2 separate regions of the Homo sapiens genome follow, and region 2 is linked to region 1. Evidence: promoter capture Hi-C in human tissues and cell types (Jung and others, 2019). All regions are on one chromosome and are shown on one strand. Each heading gives the region's core, a stretch centred on a gene start or on the middle of the fragment in contact. The rest is flanking DNA. Distances are from core to core; before and after follow the strand shown. Region 1 holds the start of MEFV (MEFV innate immunity regulator, pyrin). Region 2 overlaps SLX4 (SLX4 structure-specific endonuclease subunit).

Evidence for each region. Contacts are between HindIII fragments. The study calls those that stand out against the background at their distance.
Region 2: a contact is called between a fragment that was not itself captured here and the fragment with the promoter of MEFV in region 1, in 1 of the 25 tissues and cell types used here (stomach).

The regions. Positions count from the first base shown.
Region 1 is chr16:3,253,905-3,259,127 of GRCh38, forward strand. It overlaps MEFV (MEFV innate immunity regulator, pyrin), which reads right to left and starts at 2,729. Exons shown (of 10, transcript NM_000243.3): 1 at 2,407-2,729; 2 at 254-886. The coding sequence starts at 2,683. The HindIII fragment of the contact is 7,133 bases long and covers 1,515-5,223 here.
Region 2 is chr16:3,584,661-3,589,883 of GRCh38, forward strand. SLX4 (SLX4 structure-specific endonuclease subunit) reads right to left here. Exons shown (of 15, transcript NM_032444.4): 12 at 4,342-5,223; 13 at 109-211. Among named protein-coding and RNA genes, the nearest start is that of NLRC3, 9.9 kb to the left of the region's middle. RefSeq lists enhancers at 2,748-2,817, 4,837-5,223. The HindIII fragment of the contact is 6,051 bases long and covers 1-5,223 here.

The DNA.
Region 1 (5,223 bases), core at 1,479-3,978:
CCTCTCAAAGCTCTGGGATTACAGGCGAGAGCTACCACGCCCTGCCCAACCTTTGGGTTTTTATTTTTTTAATTTCGTTTATAGAGATGGCGGGGGTCTCACTACATTCACCAGGCTGGTCTCAAAGTCTTGGCCTCCAGCAATCCTCCCGCCCTGGCCTCCCAAAGCGCTGGGATTACAGGCATGAGCTATCGTGCCCGGCCAGCCATTCTTTCTCTGCAGCCGATATAAAGTAGGAAAGAACACAATTTACCGGTGACCGAATGTTCTGGATTTCCAGGGCCTTCCTTCAGGTCCGCAGATGCCCCTCCATCCGGAGTGGGCCTTGCCCGGGGTTCTGTTGCCGAGTCCAGATTCGCAGCTGTCTTTTCCTCTAGAGTCAGGAGAATTTCTGGATTTGCGGGCGCCTTCTCCCCTGTAGAAATGGTGACCTCAAGGCTTCTAGGTCGCATCTTTCCCGAGGGCAGGTACACTTCGAAGGGCCTGCACTCCTTCTGCCCCGGGGCGCCCCCCGCCAGCCCCTGCAGCCTCCCCGCGGAGCTGGCGTTTCTGCGCAGCCGGACCTCGGCCTGGCCCCCCTCTAGCGCCCTGCAGGGGCCGGGGCTTCTCCCGCCCGGCAGGGCCGGGCTCCGGGTCCGAGGCTTGCCCTGCGCGTCCAGGCCCTCCGAGGCCTTCTCTCTGCGTTTGCTCAGGGGCTTCCTCGACAGCCCCCTCCCGGCCTCGGGCTGGCTGCACCGCAGGCTGGCAGCTCCGCCCCCGTACGGCCGAGGGCCGTTCCCCTCGTTCCCCTCGGGGTGGTCTGGAGTCTTCAGGCTCCTGGGCTTGTTCTCCCCCAGGGAGCTGGACGCTGCGGAATCATCTGTGCCGTTTTCTTGTGTGGAATATTCTGGAAGGACAACCAGATGCAAAATGATGAAGCTGTCCCACGTTTAGGGCCCAAGATTCAGGGCAGAGGAGAGAGAATCCCCTTGGATATTAAAGTTTAGAAATTGAGGAAAACAACGGGCCGGGCGCGGTGGCTCATGCCTGTATTCCCGGCACTCTGGGAGGCCGAGGCGGGAGGATCACCTGAGATCAGGAGTTCAAGACCAACAGGGTGAAACCCCGTCTCTACTAAAAATACAAAAATAAGCTGAGCGTGGTGGCGCATGCCTGTAATCCCAGCTTCTCCAGAGGCCAAGGTGGGAGGATCATTTGAGGTCAGGAGTTCGAGACCAGCCTGGCCAACATGGCAAAACCCCGTTCCTACTAAAAATAAGAAACTCAGCCAGACGCGGTGGTGCGCACCTGTAGTCCCAGCTACTCGGGAGGCTGAGGCATGAGAATCGCTTGAGCCCGGGATGTGGAGGTTGCAGTGAGCTGAGATCGGGCCACTGCACTCCAGCCTGAGTGACAGAGCAAGACTCCATCTCAAAAACAAAAGTTCAGGACTTCCTAGACTAGACAATGGCAGTCAATTACCATTCAGTAAGAACATGCTTGATGTTGCTATGTATTTCTCTCTCTCTTATTTTATTTTTTGAGACAGGATCTTGCTCTGTTGCCCTGATGTGATCTCAGCTCACTGCAACCTCTGCCTCCCAGGCTCAAGCAATCCTCTCACCTCAGCCTGTTTTCTGTTTTTTCAATAGCTGAAAATACAGGTGTGTGCTACCACGCCTGGCTCATTTTTTTGTATTTTTGGTAGAGACAGGGTTTCACCATGTTGCCCAAGCTGGTCTCAAACTCCTGAGCTCTAGCAATCCACCCACCTTAGCCTCCCAAAGTGCTGAGATTATTTATAAGTGTGAGCCACCATGCCTAGCCTATATTTCTCAAATAGTACTTTTCAAACGTTTTAAGCAGGACAACTGTTTCAAATAAGATCTTACACAGGTCAGCAAAACCCAGATTATACGCTTTAAAAATAAAAATAAGCCGGGCACGGTGGCCTATGTCTGAAATCCCAGCACTTTGGGAGGCTGAGGCGGGAGGATCACTTGAGGTCAGGAGTTCGAGACCAGCCTGGCCAACATGGTGAACAGCACTGAGAAGATTCTATACCAACCCCGTTCATATGATTGCATAGCAATCCCTTTTTGCTAACCTAGAGATGTTTGTCTGACATGAGTATTAATCATAAATGTAGTGAAGAAGTCTCAAAGAACAGGTGTTCCAGCTCCTGCCTTTCGTGACCCTGACCTGCTTCTTAAAAAACCCATTAGGAGCCTGAAGGAAGTTTACTAACCCAGTTCCAAAGGCCAGAGTGAAGAAAGGGACGTTCCTGAACTAAAGTCATCTGGATTTTGGTAGACCTGAGACTCCCAATCCCCAGGTCAGAGTGAGCTGCTCTGAGCTCCTGGTCCCCTTTCCCACAAAGCAGCCAGCACTCAGCACTGGATGAGGAGGAGGCCTGGGCCCGCTTACCCTGAATGGCTGCCCTGTGGAGCTCCTCGGCCAGCAGGCGCTGGTTGATGGCCCGCAGGACCTGCAGGGTGAGCTGCACGGCGTACTCTTCCCCATAGTAGGTGACCAGCAGAGTGGCCATCTTCACCGGCCTGGCTCTCTGGATCTGGCTCCGGGGGATCCTGGAGTGCTCCTTCTGCACACTGGTGTTCTGCAGCTTGAACTTGAACTTCTCGAAGTCATAGGGCACCAGCTCCTCCAGGGTGGACAGCAGATGGTCACTAGGGGTCTTAGCCATGGTGCTGAGCAGGAGAGGCTCGAGCCAGCTGTCTGGCTTCTGGTAGGAAAAGAAGCCTCTGTCCTTGGTGAGCAAGAAAAGGCAGGTTGTGAAATAGCGGAAAAGGCACAGGAAATGCTCTGTGTCTTGGTGGGAACTGAGACTAAGGGTAAGGGTGTGTCCATGCCGGCTGTGTTCTCTTCTTACAGGTTCAGAGGATTTTCCAGCTGGGAGGGCTCCATGCCTTGGCAGACATGTGCCCCCACACCCCTCCCAAACCCTGGACCTCGCCTCCACACTAGACCACAGACAGATGGGCAAGTCTGCAAGGGAAGGTCTGGGATTGGATTCCAGACACCCCCTCCAATCTTCCTTCCTGCCAGGATCTGGGGCTGGCAGAGCGGGTGAGTGGGAACAGAGAGGACTATGCTGAGGGCCCGCCCTGCTGGTCAACTGTTCTCCTCCAGACTCGGGGTTTCAGGGACCTTCCAGAGCCAATGGCACAGGACGGGGGAAGGGGTGGGCACTGAATACAGTCCTGTGAGCTTTGCCTTTCCTGGCCCAAGAAGGCAAGTGAGGCCAGAAGGGCACTGCCAGGAGATAACTCTTGCCATGCCATCACCCCTGTTGATCCGGTTCCAGTTGACTGGTTCTTCCAGCCACATGAAGGACTTGAAAAGCAATGCCTGGACCACCAGCCTGACTCATCTGTTCCCAGAGCTGACTCAGTCCTCGCTCCCTGGAGCCAGAATGCTCTTCCGTGCACATTCATTGAACATTCTAGACAGTGTGCCAAGATGCTGGAGCTACACGGGTGAAAAGGCACGGGTGTCCTTCAGCTCATATGTGGTGCAGGGCCCCAGAGGTGGCTTTGAAGCTAACAGAAGTTACATGTTGGGGGCAGGGCACAGTGGCTAACGCCTGTAATCCCAGCACTTTGGGAGGCCGAGGTGGGTGGATCACCTCAGGTTGGGAGTACAAGACCAGCCTGGCCAACACAGTAAAACCCCATCTCTACTAAAAATACAAAAATTAGCCAGGCATGGTGGCACGCACCTGTACTCCCAGCTACTCAGGAGGCTGAGGCAGGAGAATCACTTGAACATGGGAGGCAGATGTTGCAGTGAGCCGAGGTTGCGCCATTGTACTCCAGCTTGGGCGACAGAGCGGGACTTTGTCTCAAAAAAAATAAATAAATGAAAAATTACATGTAGGGTGAACTGACTCCTCACTTACCTACTTCTGACCGTTGCATACCCTAATTTTTTTATTTTTAGATAGGGTCTTGCTCAGTCACTCAGGCTGGAGTGCAGTAGTGGGATCTTGGCTCACTGCAACTTCTGCCTCCTGGGCTTGAGCAACCCTCCAACCTCAGCCTCCCAAGTAGCTGAGACTACAGGTGCATTCCACCACATCTGGCCAATTTTTGTATTTTTTATAGAGACAGGGTCTCACTATGTTGCGCAGGCTGGTCTTGAACTCCTGATCTCAAGCGATCCACTCGCTTTGGCCTCCCAAAGTGCTGGGATTACAGGTGTGAGCCACTGCGCCCGGCCAGAAGTTTTGTTAATAATGCAATTTACCCTTCACCAGCACTTCCTCGGCACCAGCCACCACTAGCTTTATAAACACTTCCTCCTAGAATCTCTGCAGCACCCTGCAGGGCTGCGTTTATCATCCCCCTGTGCAGCCAAGAATCTGTAGCTTAGTGACTTGCCTAGAGCCAAGATCCAAACGTCAAACCACTTCACAACATCGTCTCCTGCATGACAATAATTTGTGATTTTACTGTTAATGACTACCCATGGATGTCACATTTCCAGCTGACCACTGAGGTCCAGGATGGGTCACTTCCACAGGTCAGTCACAACATTGCGACGCCTAGCTGAACACCCAGCTCTGGGTGTGAGCTCCTCTGTGTGTGCCCAGCCTGGGATTCAAGGCTTTGATGAGTTCTGGTTGGTTGAATTTAACTTACTGTCCAGCTGGTCCACCTGTTTCCTATTTCACAGAGTATTTGGTGTTTTTGCATTGTTTTCATAGCTGACAACAAACATGCAGTTTGCTAGATCTTTCTGAGCCCAAACCCAACATCTTCCCTAAAAAAAGGGTGAATTGGGCTGGGTGTAGTGGCTCACACCTGCAATCCCAGCCCTTGGGAGGCTGAGACAGGAGGATTACTTAAGCCCAAGAGTTTGAGATTAGCCTGGGCAACATAAGGAGACCCTGCCTCTACAAAAAATAGAAAAAATATTAGCTGGGTGTGGTGGCACACACTGGTGGTCCCTGCTGCTACTCAGGAGGCTGAGGTGGGAAGATTGCTTGAGCCTAGGTTCAGGCTGCAATGAGCTGTGATTGCACCACTGCTCTCCAGCCTGGGTGACACAGCAAGACACCCTGTCTCAAAAAAAAAAAAAAAAAAAAAAAAAAAAAGTGGATGAAATGCACATTGATGGTGCAGACAGCAGATTTTTGGAATTTTTAGGCTGGGCCAGAAGAAGGGTGTTGAATGGGGTATCACTGGGGCCAGCACCCGTCCCTGACTCTGGACGGTGGCAACC
Region 2 (5,223 bases), core at 1,335-3,834, 330 kb after region 1:
AGACCCAGAGACCACACGGGGGGCCCTTCCGCCCCCAGGTGTGTGAAACCCAGTTACTTATGGGAGGGAAAAGACCACTGTGGGCAACAAGCTTTGAAGACCGCCAACCTATCCAGTTCCTTCTTCAGCACCGGCGTCTCCATAATGGAATACTGTGGCATCGGCGTTATGGGCACTTTGGGGGGCAAGTTCTTCTTCCGATTAGCACCTTCTGGGTAAAACAAAAGAAGCACACGTTTTAGCATGAGGGACACGGATTTCCCACATCTGATCCCAGTAGCGTGACCAAGAGGAATAATGCACTTGAAGATAACCCAAGCATCGTTTTGCTCCATGAAAGCAACAGTGGTCACCCCTTCCCTGTCTGGAGCAGGGGCTTCCCAATGATAGCATCGGTGACACGCACTGAGGACCACACCTTGTATAACACGGGTGCCGGGTGAACAGAGCTCCTGGGGCCACTGAACCCAACAGCCCGGCACGTGACTAAAACTTATGCATGTAAACTTAAAAATATCTGACCCACAGTGACAACTTGAGACAATGGGCCACACTGATACTCTTCAAACAGGCTTAGACATCAGTTTTGCTTTTTAAAAATAATTCATCAATTTAAAAAAACCCAGTTAAAAAATGGGCAAAGGGGCCGGGCGCGGTGGCTCACGCCTGTAATCCCAGCACTTTGGGAGGCCGAGGTGGGCGGATCACGAGGTCAGGAGATCGAGACCATCCTGGCTAACACGGTGAAACCCCGTCTCTATTAAAAATACAAAAAATTAGCTGGGCGTGGTGGCGGGCGCCTGTAGTCCCAGCTGCTTGGGAGGCTGAGGCAGGAGAATGGCGTGAACCTGGGAGGCGGAGCTTGCAGTGAGCCGAGATCACACCACTGCACTCCAGCCTGGGCGACAGAGCAAGACTCTGTCTCAAAAAAAAAAAAAAAAAAGGGCAAAGGATGTGAACAGACATTTCTCCAGAGAAGATCTACAAATGGCCAATAAGCACATGAAAAGGTGCCCGACATCATTAGTCATCAGGGAAATGCAAGTCAAAACCACAGTGAGATACCACTGCACGCCCACTAGGATGGCCATAACAAAAAACACAGAGGGTTTGGGCAAAATGGCAGAACCCTATCTCTACAAAAAAAAAAAAAAAAAAATACAAAAAAAGTTAGCAGGGTGTGGTGGCCCAAGTCACCAATGTGGGCAGCTGTTTGTGGCTGGTTCCAGCTACTCGGGAGGCTGAGGTGGGAGGATCACCTGAGCCAGGAAGGTTGAGGCTGCAGCAAGCCATGAACACGCCACTGCACTCCAGCCTGGGCGACAGAGCAAGACCTTGTCTCAAAACAATAACAACAACAACAAAAACAGAATAACAAGTGTTGGTGGAGATTTAAAATGGTGCAGTCACTTTGGAAAACAGTCTCGCAGTTCCTCACAATGCTAAACACAGTTGCCATATGACCCAGCAATTCCACTCCTAAGTACAGAACCAAGAAGAAGGAAAACATGTCTACACGAAAACTTGCACATCAATATTCCTAAGTGGCATTATTAATAACCACAAATTAAAAACAACCCGTGTGTCCACTAGTAGATGAATGGATAAGCAAAATGTGGCATACCATCAGTGGGGTATTAGACATACAAAGGAATGTATGCCCAAAGCCAGGGCAACATAGCAAGACCCAGTCTCTACTAAAAAAAAAAAATTAGCTGGGCATGGTGGCAGCTGCCTGTAGTCCCAGCTACTCAGGAGGTTGAGGTGGGAGGATCACTTGAGCCTGGGAGGTCGAGGCTACAATGAGCTGTAATTGCGCCACTGCACTTCAGCCTGGGTGACAGAGCAAGACCCCTGACTCAAAAACAGGCCAGGCACAGTGGCTCAGGCTTGTAATCCCAGCACTGTGGGAGACCAAAGTGGGTGGATCACTTGAGGTTAGGAGTTCGAGACCAGCTTGGCCAACATGGTGAAACCCCATCTGTACTAAAAATACAAAAAAATTAGCCGGGCATGGCATGGCGATGGGCGCTTGTAATCCCAGCTACTCGGGAGGCTGAGGCGGGAGAATCGCTTGGACCCAGGAGGTGGAGGTTGCAGTGAGCCGAGATCGTGCCACTGCACTCTAGCCTGGGCAACAGAGAGAGGCTCCGTCTCAAAAAAAAAAAAAAAGAATAAAAAGGAATAAAATACTGATCCATGCTACAACATGTATGAATCTTGAAAACTGTATGCTAACTGAAAGAAGCCAGACACAGACACAAAAGGCCACATATTAGTTATATATGGCTCTGTTTATATGAAATGTCCAGGACAGGCAAATCCATAGAGACAGAAAGGTTCTTGGTTGCCAGGGCTGGGGGAAGGGGAAGGTGAGAGACTGCTCATGGGTACAGGATTTTTGAGATGATGAAAATGTTCTAGAATTAGAGAGTGGGGACAATTGTACAACACTGTGAATGTACTGAGAAGCACTGAACTGTCCATTTTAAAAGGGTGGATATTATGGTATGTGAATTATATCTAAATAAAGCTGTTACTTTAAAAAATAATAGGCTGGGCGAGGTGGCTCACGCCTGTAATCCCAGCACTTTGGGAGGCCGAGGTGGGCGGATCACCTGAGGTCAGCAGCTCAAGACCAGCCTGATCAACATGGTGAAACCCGACTCTACTAAAAATACAAAAATTAGCTGGGCGTGGTGCTGGGTGCCTGTAATCCCAGCTACTCGGGAGGCTGAGGCAGGAGAATCCCTTGAACCCGAGAGGTGGAGGTTGCAGTGAGCCGAGATAGCCCCACTGCACTCCAGCCTGGTGACACATTGGAAACAGTCAGACTTTGGTTCTTCTGCCTTTTATGACCATGGAGCCCTTTGAGCCCCCGATGAAAGCGGCAGGCTCTGTCTCCTGAGAAAAGCACGATTCTTCCTGTGGCCGCAGCGTCGTCCTGAAGCCCACCTCAGATCTGCTGTGCAGCCTCCTGCAGCTGTTCTCACAGCACTGCCTGGGAACTGGTTAGAAATGCAAATTCTTAGTCACCCTCCCGAAGCAAGGCTCTGGGGCAGGCTGGGCCACGGGCGTGCTATAAGAAGCTCTCCAGGTGTTTCTGAAGCCCCTGAGGGCCGAGGACACTATCAGTGGCCTCATTCATCTGGATTTTGGGAGGAAATGGGCCCCCAGGCCGCAGGCAGGTGCTCACTCACAGCCTGGCCTTTCTCCCAGTCATGCTCAGCCCAGCCCGGCCTGTCCTTGCCCTCCCCGGAGGTGCCTGGATGGGAGCAGCAGCACCGAGGGGGCCGACACCTGGGGCTCTGACTCTCCCCGGGGACTGAAATGAGCAGGGAGGTGGCATCCCTGCACCTGGGAGGACCAGGAAGAACAGGCCTAACAGCCTCTCACACTTGTCCCACCTGATTCTTTTTTTAATTGAGGTGAAATTCACATAAAAAAATCGTAAAGGGAATAATTCAGTGGCATTAAGTATTCACAATGTTGTACAACCATCACCTCTATCTATTTGCAAAACATTTTCACCACCCCAAAAGGACACCCTGTATCCCATAAGCAGTCACTCCCCATTCCCCCTCCCTCCAACCCAGGCCAACCACTAACCTGCATTTTCTCTGGATTTGCCTATTCTAGACATTTCATATCCATGAGTGCAGACAGTACATGACCTTCTATGTCTGGCTTCTCTCACCCGGCAGCATGTTTTCTGGGTCGTCCACGCGGTAGCGTGTGGCAGTGCCTCACTCCTCTTTGTGGCTGAACACTATTCCATTTTCTAGTGGTCTAGATGGACCACGTTTGGTTTCCCTGTTCATCTCCTGACGGGCATTTGGGTTGCTTCCAGCTTTTGGCGATTGTGAACAGCGCTTCTATGAACATGCATGTCTGAGTCCCTGTTTTTAATTCTTTTGGATATACAGGTAAAAGTGGAATTGCTGGGTCCTGCAGTCAATCTACGGTTAACATTCTGGAGAACCACCCTGGTCCAATCTTAAGGCATGCCGATACTTGCTGAATGAGTTGTGGCCTTTGGAGGTGCCGGCTCCGTGTTCTGGAGAAGGGTCCACAGATGTGGATTTTTAACACATGCCCAGGTGAGCACTGGAGCCAGGCAAGTTTGGGAAACACTGACTTACTGGCTGAGAAGTGTAGCATGAGAACCAGCCCGGCTCTCCTCCACTGTGGAGGGGAGTCTGGAAGGCAGCGGAAGTGTCATGCCTCAGGTCAGCAGGCATTCAGAGGGCAGCCCCTGGGTCTCATGACTGATCTTCCCACCCTCTTAGTGTAAAATAGTAACAAAGACAGTCCCCTTCCCCAGCTCTCCTGGCTACTCACTGGGTGTCTCTAACCCTTCGGGCTTCTGAGCTCCACCAGCGCTTGGCATCTGGGCCGGAGGAGGGGTCTCTGGAGGCCTCTGCTCTTCCCCGTCCCAAACGTCCCACAGAGCCGAATTCAGAAAGCTCGGCCTGCTATTCCCCAGGGAGCCCGCGCCCGAGGACTTCTCTTGCAATTTCCTCTGGGTAGTGCAGCTTCCTCGGATGGGGGTGGTGTCCAGGAGTCCCGGGGAGCGACAGTCACGGCTGTCGGCGGCCTCGTTCATCCTGCGGCTGGGGCTGCTGGTGCTCAGGGGGCCGGTCCGCTCCAGGTTCCAGTGGTCAATGGGAATTGGCGAGAGGGGCTCCATGTGCCAGCAGCAGTCGTCAATTGGAATTGGGGGGTCACTGTCCAGTGGGGGGCTTCTGTTGGCCTGATGGGAGGCCACCTCCTGCTCATCGTCACTGTCTCCGACTTCCACCACTTCACCCGCTGGGGTCTGGTTCAGGAAGCTTGGCCCAGGCGGCGAGTGTTTCAGGAACCGCCTGCTGAAGTGGGCGCGGTCCCCTGAGATGGGATGTGGAGCCAGCGGAGAGGAGTGCGGGTGGCCCCCGGGGTGGGGACGGGAAGGGCTTCTGTGGCCTTGCCTTCTGCCGTCAGAAGTTCCTGGAGAGACGGGAGTGAGGCATGAGGACGGTGTCTGGGGCGGTGGTGTCTGGGGCCTGATGACAGAAAACTTCTGTGCGACTTCGTTCCCTTCCCTGTTTCCTACTGAGGCCCTGGGCGTGTGCTGAGTCACCGCCTGCACGGCCAGCCCGCTCCTGAGGCTGCTGATTTGGGTCTGGGAAGAACAGTCACGGCTTCTGCTGGCCAGCGGGGTGGCGGGCACCAGCCACGAGGTGT